4 separate regions of the Homo sapiens genome follow, and regions 1, 2 and 4 are each linked to region 3. The links are contacts of gene promoters, found by promoter capture Hi-C in blood cells and fetal thymus (Javierre and others, 2016). All regions are on one chromosome and are shown on one strand. The core of a region is centred on a gene start or on the middle of the fragment in contact, and the rest is flanking DNA. Distances in the headings are between cores, read along the strand shown.

The links. Contacts are between HindIII fragments. The CHiCAGO score rates a contact against its expected background, and 5 or more counts as called.
Region 1: a contact is called between a fragment that was not itself captured here and the fragment with the promoter of YARS2 in region 3, in 4 of 17 cell types (total CD4 T cells, naive CD8 T cells, total CD8 T cells and 1 more). The highest score is 8.9, in total CD4 T cells.
Region 2: a contact is called between the fragment with the promoter of DENND5B-AS1 here and the fragment with the promoter of YARS2 in region 3, in 3 of 17 cell types (activated CD4 T cells, fetal thymus and naive CD8 T cells). The highest score is 5.4, in activated CD4 T cells.
Region 4: a contact is called between a fragment that was not itself captured here and the fragment with the promoter of YARS2 in region 3, in 2 of 17 cell types (naive CD8 T cells and total CD4 T cells). The highest score is 5.5, in naive CD8 T cells.

The regions. Positions count from the first base shown.
Region 1 is chr12:31,640,220-31,644,173 of GRCh38, forward strand. The region is part of intron 1 of LOC124902913 (a long non-coding RNA gene); the gene reads right to left. Among named protein-coding and RNA genes, the nearest start is that of ETFBKMT, 17 kb to the right of the region's middle. The HindIII fragment of the contact is 8,322 bases long and covers 1-3,954 here.
Region 2 is chr12:31,588,524-31,592,982 of GRCh38, forward strand. DENND5B-AS1 (DENND5B antisense RNA 1) reads left to right here and starts at 1,400. Exons shown (of 3, transcript NR_046909.1): 1 at 1,400-1,596. DENND5B (DENN domain containing 5B) reads right to left here and starts at 2,613. Exons shown (of 21, transcript NM_144973.4): 1 at 2,183-2,613. The coding sequence starts at 2,309. RefSeq lists enhancers at 1,134-1,213, 3,194-3,423 and silencers at 1,644-1,983, 2,134-2,403, 2,474-2,763. The HindIII fragment of the contact is 7,998 bases long and covers 1-4,459 here.
Region 3 is chr12:32,753,250-32,757,232 of GRCh38, forward strand. YARS2 (tyrosyl-tRNA synthetase 2) reads right to left here and starts at 2,648. Exons shown (of 5, transcript NM_001040436.3): 1 at 1,847-2,648; 2 at 669-836. The coding sequence starts at 2,625. RefSeq lists enhancers at 1,588-2,227, 1,784-1,943, 2,228-2,867, 2,314-2,413, 2,434-2,663 and 1 more. The HindIII fragment of the contact is 6,832 bases long and covers 1-3,983 here.
Region 4 is chr12:31,660,022-31,663,969 of GRCh38, forward strand. It overlaps ETFBKMT (electron transfer flavoprotein subunit beta lysine methyltransferase), which reads left to right. Exons shown (of 4, transcript NM_001135863.2): 2 at 1,820-2,246. The coding sequence starts at 1,933. Among named protein-coding and RNA genes, the nearest start is that of ETFBKMT, 2.3 kb to the left of the region's middle. RefSeq lists an enhancer at 2,062-2,181. The HindIII fragment of the contact is 609 bases long and covers 2,053-2,661 here.

The DNA.
Region 1 (3,954 bases), core at 1,387-3,886, 1.1 Mb before region 3:
AACAACAAGCGTGCGCCACCACACCTAGCCAATTTTTGTTTTTTTAGTAGAGACAGGTTTTCACCACGTTGGCCAGGCTGGTCTCTAACTCCTGAACTCAAGTGATCCACCTGCCTCAACCTCCCAAAGTGCTGGGATTATAGGTGTGAGCCACCAGGCTCAGCCCACTGTAGCTTTCAATAATACTCATCAGGGCCAGCAGCGGTGGCTCACGCCTGTAATCCCAGCACTTTGGGAGGCCGAGGTGGGCGGATCACGAGGTCAGGAGATCAAGACCATCCTGGCTAACATGGTGAAACCCCGTCTCTACTAAAAATACAAAAAATTAGCCAGGCATGGTGGCGGGCGCCTGTAGTCCCAGCTACTCGGGAGGCTGAGGCAGGAGAATGGTGTGAACCTGGGAGGCAGAGCTTGCAGTGGGCTGAGACCACACCACTGCACTCCAGCCTGGGGAACAGAGCGAGACTCCGTCTCAAAAAAAAAAAAATACTTACCAGGCTATCACCCTTCTGACAGAAGAGACTTACCAAATAAGACAAATGGCTCTACAAAACTGTATGGCTTTAGACATTTTAACTGCAGCCCAAGGGGGAATTTTTGCCCTGATCAAAACTGAATGTTGTATTTATATTCCTGAGTATTCCCATAATGTATCCCAGGCTATGAGTTCCTTGGAAACTCACATTACAGCATTAATTCTCTGTCTCAAGGCCCCATAATGGCCTGGTTTGTTAGCTATCCAGTACTTGGAAAGCATTTCTTTTCAGCATGCTTGGTATTGTAATACTCGTTATTATAAATTGCTGTGCTTTTTACTTCTGTTGCACTTGTGTAGGTTTGCAAGATAAAATAGCTCAGCAACTTCTTTGCCCATCTATTTACTCATTTCATATTTTACCTTTATAGGAACTATTGGGACATTGCTCAAGCAAGGAACCACCTGGCTCCCTGAGGAGGCTCACTGCATGCTTTCGTGAAAGGACCCTGTCCCAGCAATCGATGTCCACTATCAGCAGGAAGAAGTTACAGAAGAATGACCTTCACCCTCCTCTCCTCTTAAAATTAAGGGCTCTCTTAGCTGGGCATAGTGGCGCATGCTTGTAATCCCAGATACTTGGGAGGATGAGGCACGAGAATCACTTGAGCCCGGGAAGCAGAGGCTGCAGTGAGCCAAGATCGCACCACCACACTCTAGCCTGGGTGGCAGAGCGAGACCCTGTCTCAAAAAAACAAAACAAAACAAAAAGATTAAGGGTTCCCTCAAAATTAGTGGGGGTAATGTTAGGGAACCAGGAGCCTAGGAGGGCCAGAGTAGCACCATTTTAAGTTCAGCTCCATCTTGAGAAATAGTAAAGCCCATTCTCTGCTGGTCACGACCCACATTCATGGGCTGTTTACAGTGGAAGAAACAGCCTAAAGATACCTACAAGGACACACTCCTACTACAGCCAAGAGTCCAGATGTCCAATACCCATAACAATCTCTGTTTTCAAGATAATAATAGTTTTGCTTTGATGTATCCACACACTAGAATGTCAAGGCCAGTTTTCTTTAAATCAGTAGTCATACATTCTGTCATGCTGTCTGCTCACCCACACGTGGACACAGCTTAGCTTAGCCTTTATATAGACAAGATCTCTAGAGAAGAAAAACAAAAAACAAAGTCGAGGCGTTCCTCCTCTTGCTTTCTGAGGATGCCCTACTCTAACAGTGTAGTTTCTAATAACGTTGCTTCTTTCACTGCACTCTGTGACTCGTTTTGAAGTCCCTCCTGCTCGAGATCCAAGAACGTTCTCTTGGGGTCTGGATAGAGATCCCTTTTCCGGTAACACGATCATTGAAGGTATAGAGGTCCCGGACTGCTGGGAATATTTTATATTTCCTTTTGAAGACTCTCCATCCTGCCCTTATTTCTTAAAGCTGAGTTAATTCCATTGCACATAATTTATTTCTCCCTCCTGTATACATATCTTCCTTTTGTCCTCTTCTGTCGCTTTTAATACCGTGTGGAGGTGCAAAACCCCTTCTAGTAATGGCTGGGGAAAAAAAGTCATGTAAGTCCCAGGGTGAAATAAGACTTTCTAAAAAAAATACTTGAGTCTCAACCTCTAAAACCTTTCAAGTACCCCGATATTTCTTTTCATCTTGTCACAAATTTTTATATTCCTCTTCATCCTGTTAAAATCTCCCCTGTTTTTCTTAAATTACCACCTTTCAAGGTAAATAAAACGCTGCTGGTTCTCTTTTTATCAGTGTGCCATTTAATTTTCGGTTATTACAATAGAATGGTCTTAAATTTGTCTTTAAACTGAAAACATGCAACTCTCAAGTGATAACACGGCTTAGAGAACCTTTTGTTTGAGAGCCTGGAAACTAAGTGTCTCCATTACAATGTTTCCGACTCCCAAAATAACCAAGAGATGAGGTATCCTTGTGCCACCTTTATAAAACTCTTGGTTGTTACGTCTCATGCAGAGACACAATATTTGTTGATAGTTTAAATAATAATTATTATTAATATTAATAGAACATTTTCTATGTTCCAGGCCTTGCTTTAAGAAGTTTATAGGCATTGACTCATTTAATCCTCACCACAACCTATGAAGTAGGTACTTCTTGTTCTCTCATTTTTCAATTTTATTTTGTTTTGTACTTTTAGTAGAGATGGGGTGTCGCCATGTTGCCCAGGCTGGTCTCAAACTCTTGAGCTCAAGCAATACACCCACCTCGGCCTCCCAAAGTGCTGGGATTACAGGTGTGAGCCACCGTGCCCGGCCTTGTTCTCTCATCTTATAGACAAATTCACCGAAGCACAGAGAGGTTACGGCACTTAATCAAGCTCACAGAGCTAGTAAGTGGTGGAACAGATTGACTTTAGAGCCACTCTGTTCTGCCCTTTAACAGAATTCATTCTGTGACATATGGATTATTTTGAGTCTCATTAGGCATATTTTGAAACTACTCAGATTCATATTAAAACTCCATGAAGGTAGGACCGAAGTCTTATTCATTTTTGTTTCTCCCACAAATTTTTTTTTTTTTTTCTGAGATGGAGTCTCACTCTGTTGCCCAGGCTGGAGTGCAGTGGCGTGATCTCAGCTCACTGCAACCTCTGCCTCCCGGGTTCAAGCAATTCTCCTGCCTCAGCCTCCTGAGTAGCTGGGACTACAGGCACACACCACCACACAGGGCTAATTTTTGTTTTTCGTTTTTGTTTGTTTGAGACGGACTCTTGTTCTGTCACCCAGGCTGGAGTGCAGTGGTGCGATCTCAGCTCACTGTAAACTCTGCCTCCTGGGTTCAAGCGATTCTCCTGCCTCAGCCTCCCATGTAGCTGGGATTACAGGGGCATGCCACCACGCCCAGCTAATTTTTGTATTTTTAGTAGAGACAGGGTTTCACCATTTTGGCCAGCCTGGTCTTGAACTGCTGACCTCAAGTGATCCATCCACCTCGGCCTCCCAAAGTGCTGGGATTATAAGCGTGAGCCACCGCACCTGGACAATTTTTATATTTTTTCTAGTAGAGACGGAGTTTCATCATGTTGGCCAGGCTGGTTTCGAACTCCTGACCTCAAGTGATCCGCCTGCGTCGGCCTCCCAAAGTGCTGAGATTACAGGCATGAGACACCGCACCTGGCCCCCTAGCAGGTTCTTGATAGTTGCTGACAATGGAGCTAGCTGGGGATTCTTTCCTCCGATGGTCATTATGCATTATAGACAAGGTTCCTGTGTTCTCATTATGCCCCCAAGGAACATGCTTCAGCAAACGTGAAAAATGCCAGAGCCATACATTTTTTTTTTTTTTTTTTTGAGACAGGGTCTCCCTCTGTCACCCAGCCTGGAGTGCAGTGGCATGATCACAGCTCACTGCACATTCATCTGCCCAAGCCCAAGTGAGCCTCACACCTCAGCCCCCAAGTAGGTGGGATTACAGGTGCACTCCACCACACCC
Region 2 (4,459 bases), core at 150-2,649, 1.2 Mb before region 3:
AACAATACAGTATAACAACTATTTACATAACATTACAACGTAACAGGTATTGTAAGTAATCTAGAGATGACAAAGTGTACAGGAAAATGTTCATAGGTTATATACAAATGCTACAACATTTTATTATAAGAGACTTCAGCATCCGAGGATTTTGGTGTGGGGGACACTCTAGAATCCATCCCCCATGGTTACGGAGAGATGATTGTATTTTCATTATCTCTTTACACTAGAACGTATGCTCCATGATGGCAGGGATTTCTGACTGCTTTCTTCACAGCTGTCCCCAGTGCCTAAAAAACCGACTACAGATAGATGCTTTCAAAACTGTTGGATGAATGATACTGAAATATTACAAGGCAAAATACATTATTACCTGAATACATTAAATATTATGAGAAGCAGAAATCCCAATCACCCACACTCACACAGTTTTGCAAAAAGAGACATCATAGTTTGTTTCTTAAAAATGCATTAAAGTCTAATTGATGGTTTTGTTAACATCATTCTCTCTGTGCCTAAAGAGTCCTAGGTCACACCTAAAAGGTACAGTTTTAGCTTCAGTAGGCAAACGGAAAAGAAAAATACAGGCTTTTTTCCTTTCATTAGTCATCACTGACAGAAGGCCTCCAAGTGACCCTGGTGCCACAAATGTTTAGGATCTTTAGGGAAGAAAGGAGTCTAGAAAAATAACAATATTCCTTCACCAATCTCGAGAAGAATCTCTCCAAATCTCTCTGCAGACATTTTTTCTTCATATCCTTTAACAAAGCCATTCTTAACATGTACATGAAATCTTAGTTGAAGAAACAATGTGATTACATAATTACACATACGGAAAAACTTGGTATTCTATTATCTCTCCAAATTTTTTTTTAACTAAAACTAGACTTACAGTTTTTGTTGAAAATGTTTTGTGTTTCTACCTCCGAAGAATATGAAAAAAAGAAAATGTTTTGCTCTGAAGCTGAGTTAAGAAGAAGATAGCCAAGACGTGGGTTGATGGGGACTGTATTTTAAGGCTGAACAGTTTTGTTTACTATTGTTTATTATTTAATATATTCTTCCCAGTCTCCCCACCCCCACCAAAGGAAAAGCGAAAAATTTACGTTAGTGCAATCAATAAGGAATTATTTGTCCAAAGGAAGTTGTTCTGAAAGGCTATGACCTAAGTCTTTAACACAAAGTTCAGGCGGTAGATGTCACTTCTCTCACCCATTTAACAACAACAACAAATCAAGATTCAGATCCCGCGGAGGCAAGCAGAAAGGAACAGGCGTGAAAAATGAAATCAGTTGTTTCTCCCCGGCCTCCTCTCGACACTGCGCACTCCGCTGCCCTGCCCCCGCCCATCGCCCTTTAGCGGCCCCTTTTAACGGCGTCGTTTGCCCAGCACAGCCCCGCACTGCGCCATCAAATGAGTCAAGCGGAAGGACCGGTACCCCTCCGGGAAAACCAGGCACTAACACACGGTGCACCCAACTGAATTTAAACTCGGGAACAGTGTAGGCAGTGTCAACAAAGCGCGGTGCTGGGTCCCGAGCGTCCAAAGGTCCCTGCCAGCTCCCAGACGCGGCCAAATCCACAGGATTCCAAAAGGTGACTTGGCCGGCACCGCAGAGCGGCAGGCGGCGCAGAGGGCAGAGTCCGACCGGTCCCCGCCCCGCGCTCGCTCCGCACGGCCACCGGCTCCTCCGCGGACGCTACCCCGGCGGGAGCCGAGCTGAGTCCGACTCCCCGTCTCCCGAAGAGGCCCGAAAGCCGCGTCACGTGCGGGGCCGAAACTTCGCGGCCGGGGCCGGGTGGCTGGCGGGTGGGAGGCAGGCACGGCGGTCGGGGGGCAGCCCGCGCGCCCGGTGACTCACCGGCCGCCTCCGAGTGCGGCTGCAAGCGAAGGGGCCGGCGCGCCAGGCGGGGTCCGTGCCCTTGGGGCCACCCCCGCGCCTGTTATTAATAACCCAGCGCCTGGAGGCGAAAGCCCCGGTGGGCGCAGCCGCAAAGCCCGCACGCGGAATAAATAACAATGTCATTAAATCGCGCCCGAGCGCCAGTTCGGCCAGAAAGCGGCGGGAGGGCGCCACCGGGAGCTGACTTTGTCTGGAGCCTGCACCCCGCCTCCCGCGCGTCCCCACAGCGTCCCCCGCGCCCCTGAGGGGGCTCAGCGCCGCCGCAGCCCTGGCCTTACCCGCCAGCTCGTCAGGCTCCAGCCCGCTGTCCGCGTCGATCCCGCACAGCACGAAGTAGTGCGCGAAGCGGCAGGCGGCCGGGGAGGAGCCCGAGCCCGGGCCGGGCGCCGCGCAGCTCCCGCTCATCCCGGCCGCGCTGCTCCAGGGGCCGCCGCCGCCGCCGCCCGGGAAGGCTTTCTGCGGAGGCTGCCACCACCGCTCCGGCTGTGGTCTGTGCGCCCGCCCTAGGGCGACACTGGCGCGCCCATGGCCGCGCAGCCGCCTCTCGCCGCCGCAGCCTGCCTCCTCGCTCGGCGCGGGGGAAGCGGCCGCGGGCTCGCGCGCGGCGGGTCCGGAGCCCGGCCGGGTGGGGGAGGGGCGCGGGGGGAGTGTCGGCCTGAGAGGCCCTCGCAGCCGCAGCTGCGCTCGCGAGCTGAGAGCCGCCGCGTCTGGCGCCCGCGGGTCAGCTGAGCGGCGCTCGGGCTGTGGGAGCGCGGGGCGGGCGGGGGCGCCGGGGCTCGGCGCGTGCGACGGAGAGGGGTGGGGGGCGCGCTCGCGAGGGACGGAGGCGCGCGCTTCTACCGTGCGCGCGCGCCTAGCGGGTTCGGAGGCCAAGCCTGGCGTGGGGCCGCATTCGTGCCCACTGGCCCCGGCTGCGGCATCGAGGGCGACCCTGCACACACCCCTCCTCGCCCTGGCCAGCCGATAAGAGGGCTAGCCTCAGTGTGGGGGTCTGTCTTCTAAAGGGGTTGTCACCCATCCTTATTTCTTTTAATGCAGCTTTGGGGAAGGTGAACAGCCGCTCTGAGATCATTTCGCATAACGGTCTGAACCATCGTCTTTTAAACTGTGACCTGTGTGGGGGTGCCTGTCTCACTTTAAGGTCCTCCCTTCCCCCAGCCGTCACCCCATTTACAGGCCATCCTTAGTGACTTAGTGACAAGTCAACCGTGAGGGGGAAAAAACACAACTCAATACCCACAAAGCGTTGAGACTTCTAGAAGGAGTGCAGTCACCAACCCCCGCCTTCTGTCATTTATCCTGACATTTTCCAGGTCAGTGTAAATAGCCAAGGCGCTCCAGTTCCGCAGCCCTGTACCCATCCGATGTTATCGGCTCTCCCCGCAAGTAACAATCGGAGGCTAAAGCAACAGGAATTAGACCATGAACTCTGCTCCTCCCAAAGGCACGGCTTTCTTGCCCTGCTCAGCTGTCTTTTGCCTTCTCGGAAGGAACTCGACAACCAGTTCTTTTTCCTTTGAAAGAAAACTGGCTGGGCTCAGTGGCTCACACCTGTAATTTACTCAACACTTTGGGAAGCCCAGGTAGGAAGATCACATGAGACCAGGAGTTCAAGACCAGCCTGGGCAATAGAGGGAGACTCTGTCTCCATCTAAGTAAAAAAATAACATTTATTTATTTAAAAAATAATTTTTTAAGAGACAGGGTCTCACTGTATTGACCAGGCTGCTCTCAAACTCCTGGGTTCAAGTGATCCTCCCGCCTTGGCCCCCAAATGTGCTAGGATTACAGGCATAATAAGCCACTGTGCCCGGCCATGTAAGTAAAAATAAAACTTAAAAGATAGAAAACTGAATGCAATTCATCTCCACATGGCAACCCCTTCCACACCACTCCCTGCTTTCTTCTTTGGGGATTTGGGGCATCTACCACTAGACATACAAGCAAACCTTCCAGAGAGGTTGCCTGAGAGAACCTCGATTATTTGACTGAATAATGTTCTTCCTAGAAGATACATGTGCGTGCATACCATCATTTAATGTAGCTTGTATCTTCACTTTCTTTCTTCAATTTTGAAATGAAAGAGGCTGGCCATGGTGGCTCAGGCCTGTAATCCCAGCACTTTGAGAGGCCAAGGCAGGAGGAGCATTTGAGTCCAGGAATTCAAGACCAACCTGGGCAAAATAGTGAGAGACCCTGTCTCTATAAAAATAAAATGAGGCCGGGTGCAGTGGCTCAAGCCTGTAATCCCAGTCCTTTCGGAGGCCAAGGCGAGAGGCTCACTTGAGGTCAGGAGTTTGAGACAAGCCTGGCCAACATGGTGAAACTCCGTCTCTACTAAAAAAAAAAAAAAAAAAAAAAAATCAATAAAATAATAATTAGTAAAATATAAGAAGAATTGGCCGGGTGCAGTGGCTCATGTCTGTAATCCCAGCACTTTGGGAGGCCAAGGCGGGCGGATCACGAGGTCAGGAGACCGAGACCATCTTGGCCAACATGGTGAAGCCCTGTCTCTACTAAAAATACAAAAAATTAGCCAGTGTGGTGGCACGCAC
Region 3 (3,983 bases), core at 1,398-3,897:
TGGGCAATGGGAGTGAGATTCTGTTTCAAAAAATACAAAAAAGAACTGATATTATTTTTGTACTATGAATATGGTCTAACTCTCCATTTATGTAGGTCTTTATTTTGCTCAATAGCATCTTTTAATATTTTGCAGGAAAGTCATATACCTTTTAAGTCTTAAAGAATTATTCCTAGATTACTTTGATGTTACAGAGCATCAAAATATTTTTTTCACTTTTTGTTGCAGGTATATTTGTTTCTCATTAATTCATATTCTTCCAAGAGTTTAAGGCAATTTGATTTAAGGAGAAATCATTTCTTAAGAGGATCTTTAAAGTCATATTTGTGAGAGAAGAGAGACAAAGGAAAAATAAGGGTAGTCAAGGTTAAGTTGAAAGGAGTGAAAAAACTAGAATATGCAGGTGATAAAATCCTAAGAACTTGCTAGATACAGATCAAAAAGTTGGCTCTACATTTTCTAGCCACCCACTGTTTTTCTGCTTTAACCAACAAAGTGTTTAACTTTAGAACACAGTAAAAATTAGTCTTCTATGATGTAATGGTTTATGTACAGACAGAAACTACGTTAAAAACAAAAAAACTATAAAATGTACATAGATTCAATGGCTAAAATTACATCATGAGTTTATGGTGTCAGTTTTTCTCAGCCCATTATTCAGAACTCACCTTTCCACTGAATCGTCCGGTTGCCTGACAAAGAATTGATACAATTCAAATGGAGATGTCTTATCTCTGTTTAGCCAAACAGCGTTGCCAGCAGACTTTCCCAGCTTTGCTCCAGTTGTACTTGTAATTAGAGGAACGGTGATTCCAAATACATCTTCTCCAGTCAACCTACGCATAAAGAACAATTTCATTATGTGCCTCAAGCACAAGTGGTGGTAGGTTCTACTGTTCACCTTCCAGATTTCTTTCTGGTTACTTGCTCCAGGAAAACTTCCTTGACCTCCTAAATCTGAATTCTTGTTCCTCTTATGTATTGTTACAGTACTTACTCTATTCATTCTGAACCTCATGAGTGGTTCCAGGCAGGTTCTAGGCAGGCCAAGGGGAAGTGCTACATAACAATGGACTAGAGATTTTGAAAGGCTGAGTGGGAAGGAGAAAACTGGGTGAAGGGGTGTCAGGAAGAGACACTAAAGGAAATCTTCTAAACGCCTTTTAAACATGTGCTTTGCTCTGTTGCACATGAGCTAGCCCTATCCTTCACCTCTCTCAAGAAAATGCTATTAGACCCGCATTACTTGTCAATTATTTGGAGTTGAAAAAACTTTTTGAGATACCAACCAAGGACTAACACTAGTTTCATGGAGGGTGCAGAGCTAAAGCAGAGGCTAGCTACTCAAGGAGGCCCAGTCACGTTCTGGTATAAACACACAAAAGCAGTTTCTCTAATTAGAGAGGACGACTTAGGCGAAGCAAAACAGACCGACCAAATCTTCACTAGTGGTCTGTTTCCCTTTTTTTTTTTTTTTTTTTTGAGACGGAGTCTCCCTCTGTTGCCCCAGGCTGGAGTGCAGTGGCGCGATCTCGGCTCACTGAAACCTTCGCCTCCCGGGTTCAAGAGATTCTCCTGCCTCAGCCTCCCGAATAGCTGGGATTACAGGCGTGCATCACCACGCCCAGCTAATTTTTAGAATACACCGTTTACTCTTAATACCCTTAATTCAGCCCTTTAATTCTTATTAGCCAGTGTTATTAACGCCATTATAGAGCCTTAATGGGGATAAAACCAACAAGAGCTGGAACGAAGGGCAGCAACTACAATCCTAAGAGTGAATCACAGGCTACTAGTGTGTAAATTATTTGGTCCCAGGATTTCCCCAAGGTTTAAAGGCACTTACTTGTTGATGAACTCATATCCGGACATGATGTTGCCTAGTTGATCAGATCCGCCCAGCTGGACCCTGCATCCATAACGCTGGAAGAGGTAATAGAAGTCATAGGCCTGGAGCACCTGGTAAAAGAACTCGGCCAAGCTCATGCCCTCGGGGCTCTTGAGCCGCAGCTGCACGCTCTGCCGGCTCAGCAGCGTCCCCATGCGGAAGTGACCCCCCACTGCCGCCAGGAAGTCCACCAGGTGCTGCTTCTGGTACCAGGCCGAGTTGTCCAGCACAGTGAAGCTGCCCCAGGAGCGCCCATCAGTGAAAAGCTGCTGGTGATTAGCCGCCAGGGCCTCAAGCCCTAGGCGCAGAGCTCGCGCGTTGGCTCGCACGCGCTCTGTCTCCAGCGCCTCGCGTTCCTTGGTACGGCCGCTCGGGTCTCCCAGGCGCGCCGTGGCGCCTCCCACCAGCGCGATCACGTTGTGGCCCGCTCGCTGCAAATGAAACAGGCCCAGCAGCGCAAGTAGATGACCCACATGAAGCGAGTCTGCCGTGGGGTCGAAGCCACAGTAAATGGTTTGGGGAAAACTCGCCGTGCCACGGTCGAAGAGCTCTGGGAGCTCTATTTTCGTCCCCGTCTCCGGGAAGAAGTCCTTGAACAGACCTCGAGCCTTCTGCGCTGCCAGTAACCCCTGAGCGCCCGAGTGGGCCTTACGCAGCCCCAAGGGCAACAATACTGAGAGATTTAGGGTACCAGACCACCGGCCCCAGGAAAAGGACCGCAAGATGGGCGCCGCCATCTTGGTAGCGGCACGAAGGGAATGCTGGGATTGCAGAGGCTCCCACCACACCCACCTACTTACAGCTCCTAGGGAAGGTGCTTCAGTGTTTTTCTGCGCATGCCCGAGACGGTTACGTAGTTACGGAGCTTGCGCTCTCAGCAGTTGAGTCCCGACTCCAAGTGGCGATTCCGCCTCAGAGCCGTCGCCTTACGTTCCCTTAAACTTAATTTTTCCATCAGCAGTGTGGATCTGCTTATGATAGTTCCTACCTCATAAGGCTGTTGTGAGCCTTAAAAATTAAAGCATTTGGCACATAACGCTTCACAAATGCTAACTTGTATTTACATTTTCACGTAAAAAGATTGTGATGCGCAAGTTCTTTGAAGTCTTGGTTCCATGCAAAAAGCTGTTCACAGAGGTTGAGAAAGGTTAGGAATTGGTTTAAGTTCGCGGAGAGATAGGGAGTTGCTGCTGAGACGCAAGCAATTTCATAGTACCGATTCCCTAATTGCACCTCGTCCCCAGTATTCATCGGCTCTTCCAGGAGGTGGCAGTCTTGTCCAAGGTATAGCAAGAAAAACTCAGTGCAATAAAGTACATGCATCAAGTCCTGTGGTTTATTTATTTTAAATACAGTTAACTAGGTTGGGACACAGCTTAGCATGAGTGGATTCAAGTTAGTAATCACATCGTGCAGCGTGACAGGTGCTCTGAATACTGACCAGGGATGAGGTTCTTATTGGCAGCTGGCTGGCAGGTGATCTAGCTTCAAAATCCCATGTTAGAGCCTGATTTCTAGGACCGCTTTCAAAATCGTCTTAGGTAGAATTCCCTGGACTCTGAGTTGGGGGGGAGACTGGTTTGCAGGAGGGTAATTGGAGTGTGCTCTTAAGAACAACACCTATAATGGAGTGAGGGAGGCCGGGTTGGGCGGAGGGAGAAAGAAGTTGAACTGTGAACAATTTGTAATAGAGGCCTCAGGCAATCCAGTAAGGGCTCTGGAGCCGGGATTTCCTTTCAGAGTCATCCTGAATTGAGGCCAGGGGGCAGACCTTTAGACCCTCTTACTGACTGCTCATTAAATGTGGGATGTTTCTGGGGAGGAAGCAAAACGCTGGGTTAAGGCTTTTGGAGAGTGAGATGTGCAGGAAGGGACTCAGCTGTGAGCAATAAGCAACCAACACTCCCAGCAGCTGGGGGATTGAGTGCCTTGGTCCTGTGACTGGGATCTGGGCCATGTTCCAAATCATTCCCTACAGGACTTTTCCATTTTTTAACGTTATAAAGTTATCTAACAAAATGAAAACTTATTTTAATAATTAGTTTCTTTGCATGTATAATTATCAGTGAATTAGTTTCTCATTGCCAAATAGTAA
Region 4 (3,948 bases), core at 1,107-3,606, 1.1 Mb before region 3:
CCGGGCGTGGTGGCACGCCCCTGTAATCCCAGGACTCGGGAGGCTGAGGTAGGAGAATCGCTTGAACCTGGGAGTCGGAGGTTGCAGTGAGCCGAGATCACGCCACTGCACTCCAGCCTGGGCAACAGAGACTCTGTCTCAAAAAAAAAAAAAAAAAAAAAAAAAAAGGTGGAAGCTAATGTGTCAATATCTAGATTTTTTTGATGATTTTGAGAAATCGGAGGATCTGGCAGCATGTCCTGCCTAGCCTTTTTGAACTGTTTGAAAACAGTCTCCAGCTTGCCACAGCCCCTCTGTTATTTTACAGCCAGCCTGCATCACTCATTTATGATGTCCAGCCCCTTGTGGGGATTTGGATTTTTGACCCCTAAATACTTTAGTGGATTTAAGACCATTTAAAACATTTATGCAGAAGAGATCCGAGGTCCCCAAACAACTGGGTGTATAAGTTGTGTTTAAGTTGTTCCTCATTCTCATTTATTCTAATCCGGGTGTTTTTCTATATATATATATTTTTAAACAAATCTTAGTGATCAATTGCACAGGTGTTTTTCTGTTGGAGCAAATCTTTTCAGTTTAGGCTTGGTAAAATCGAACCATCAGATACTTTTACAGAAAGAGATTTAGGAGTTGATGTTCTTTTATTACAATTAAATGCATACAGTATTTTTAAAGGAAAAAACCTGAATCTTGATTGCATTGTTTTATGATACAACAATCTTTAATGAAATAGAGTAGTCAATATAATTTGTATTAATATATCTCTGCCCACAGACAATTATAAATTCATTAACCCCCAGAACTCTTGGCTAGACTTCATAAAGGCAAAAACTGTGTTTGCCCTGTTAACTGCTTTATCCCACCACTAGAATATAAGCTTCCTGAAGACAGAAGACTTCTGTTATTTTGTTCACAGTTACCAAGCATGCCTACTTTGTTAAATTTATGAAAGAACTTTAAAGGTACAGTTGGCCCACAATATAACAATATAGCAATATAAAATTACAACAATAAAAATAACACAAAAATAGTGTAACAACTACTTATATAGCATTTACGTTGTATTAAGTATTATGAGTCATCCAGAGATGATTTAAAGTAAAGTATACCACAGCATATGCCTAGTTTATATACAAATATGATGCCATTTTATATAAGGGACTTGAGTATCCTCTGATTGTGGTATCCTGGAAGCAGGGGATACCGGAACCAATCACTTGAGGATACTGAAGGATGACTGTATGGCTGATTTCCTGTAAGAGGCATTTTCTTGAGGATTCTTTCAAAATCAAATGCTTGTATATTTGTTGTGTTAAATTACTAAAAGGATTCTCTTGTGAAAAGTATCATTTAAAAAGATTGGATTTTCCCAATTGATGCACCAAAGCTTTCATCTGAAATGAACTTGCACATGTGAATCATCAGATACAGTAATATACACTGTAATATTTTATTTCTTTTTTTTTTTTATGAGACGGAGTTTTGCTCTTGTTGCCCAGGCTGGAATGCAATGGTGCGATCTCGGCACACTGCAACCTCCGCCTCCCGGGTTCAAGCAATTCTCAAGTAGTGAGATTACAGGTACCCGCCACCACGCCTGGCTAATTTTTTGTATTTTTAGTAGAGACAGGGTTTCACCATGATGGCCACACTGGTCTTGAACACCTGACCTCGTGATCCACCCGCCTTGGCCTCCCAAAGTGCAGGGATTACAGGCGTGAGCCACCGCGCCCGGCCAATATTTTCTTATTATGTAATAGGATCTAGAAATGTTGCTCTTCCTCAGAATTCTCAGTATTACTTTTCTTTTTTTTTTCAGAGTCAGAGGTTCCGGTTGAGATCAAGTTGGGAGACACACCCTTGTTCATTCTCCTTGAGAAGCAGCTATTATCAACAGAACATTGACAGAACCTGTGTTTGGGGAAAGGACTGATGGCTTTGAGTCTAGGTTGGAAAGCACACAGGAACCACTGTGGTCTCCTCTTGCAGGCTCTGCGAAGCAGTGGTCTTCTCTTGTTTCCCTGTGGCCAGTGTCCCTGGAGAGGAGCTGGAAGCTTTTTGGACCCTGAGATAAAGGCTTTCCTGGAGGAGAACACTGAAGTCACCAGCAGTGGTAGCCTCACCCCTGAAATCCAGTTGCGGCTTTTGACCCCCAGATGCAAATTCTGGTGGGAGAGAGCTGACCTGTGGCCCCACAGTGATCCTTACTGGGCAATCTACTGGCCAGGAGGCCAAGCCCTGTCTAGGTACTACCCTAATGAAACCTTTAAGGCGCTACAGATCTTTGCTGTTTTCAGTTCCCTCCAACCTCTACAAAAAACCAGAGCAATGCTAGGCGTGGTGGCTCATGCCTGTAGTCTCAGTACTTTGGGAGGCTGAGGCTGTAAGCTGTGATCCTGCCACTGCACTCTCGCCTGGCCTGTCTCAAAAACAAAACAGAAACCGGCAAAACTCAGTCTTGTTGTTTTCTTTTTTCTTTCTTTCTTTTTTTTTTTTTTTTTTGGTAGAGACAGGATCTTGCTATGTTGTCCAGGCTGGTCTTAAACATCTGGCCTCCTCAACCTCCCCAAGTGCTGGTATTACAGACATGAGCCTCTGAGCCTAGCCTCAGGTTAGCCATATTTTTTGTTGCCTTGTTGCGTAATTTCCCATTCTAACCCAAGCTTATCAAGCTATTTTCCCAAGTAACTGTCTCCCCAAGAGAAATCCTAGAGTCAGCTGTCAAGACCCTGGATAGCTATAAGTGATCCAGAAATCTCACCTGTTAGGAGGTTCATAGTTCATAGCGCATGACCATTGCAGAGTTCCTAGATGGAAGCTAAACACCCAGTCCTTTCGCTCTCCTTTAATTCAGTGAATGTCGCTCCATAAACCTCACATTCCTTCCAGAGTTGCTTATTTTCCCATAAAACAGGAGCTGTGAGTGAGTGGGCTGTTCAAAGTTTCCCTCTTCTGTTGGGTGCAGTGCCTGTAATCCCAGTGCTTTAGGAAGCCAGTGCAGGAGGACAGCTTGAAGTCAAGAGTTTGAGACCAGCGTAGGCAACATAGTGATACCCCTATCTCTACAAAAAAAAATTTTTTTTTTTTTTGAGACAGAGTCTCACTCTGTCACCCAGGCTGGAGTGCAGTGGTGTGATCTCGGCTCACTGCAAGCCCCGCCTCCCGGGTTCACGCCATTCTCCTGCCTCACCCTCCTGAGTAGCTGGGACTACAGGCTCATGCCACCATGCCCGGCTAATTTTTGTATTTTTAGTAGAGATGGGGTTTCACCATGTTGATCAGGCTGGTCTCGAACTTCTGACCTCGTGATCCGCCCTCCTCGGCCTCCCAAAGTGCTGGGATTACAGGCGTGAGCCACCGCGCCTGGCTTAATTTTGTATTTTTAGTAGAGACAGGGTTTCACCATGTTGACCAGGCTGGTCTCGAACCCCTGACCTCAAGTGATCCGCCAGCCTCGGCCTCCCAAAGTGCTGGGATTACAGGCATGAGCCATCGTGCCTGGCAGTAGCAGCTATTTAGACAGGGCATGTATGCCTCTACTTTGCCATAGTGTTAACTGGTTGATGTCAAGTCCCAGGTTCTTAGTGCCATCAACAAAGAATTGGACATGACACATACAAGTAGCAAGGCAGCAAACAGTTTGTTAAGCAGAATGCAATCAGCAACGGATCAGGCTGACCTGCGAGTGGTATCAGCCCCAGTTTGTTATAGTTCATGGCCTTTTATATGTTTTTTCCTCACTTGCTTAACCTTACTTTGTTTTTCGTAAGTGAATTGCTCATCCTGGCCTTTCCCTCATTGTGCCTAAACCGCACTTTATTTCTCATAAGCTAATTGTGCATCCTTGCTTAACCTTATTTTATCTTTTCTGACAAAATTGCTCATCTTTACTTTTAGTTCTTGTAACCAAATTGCTACTGCAACCCCTTTCCACTTATTTTCCTTATC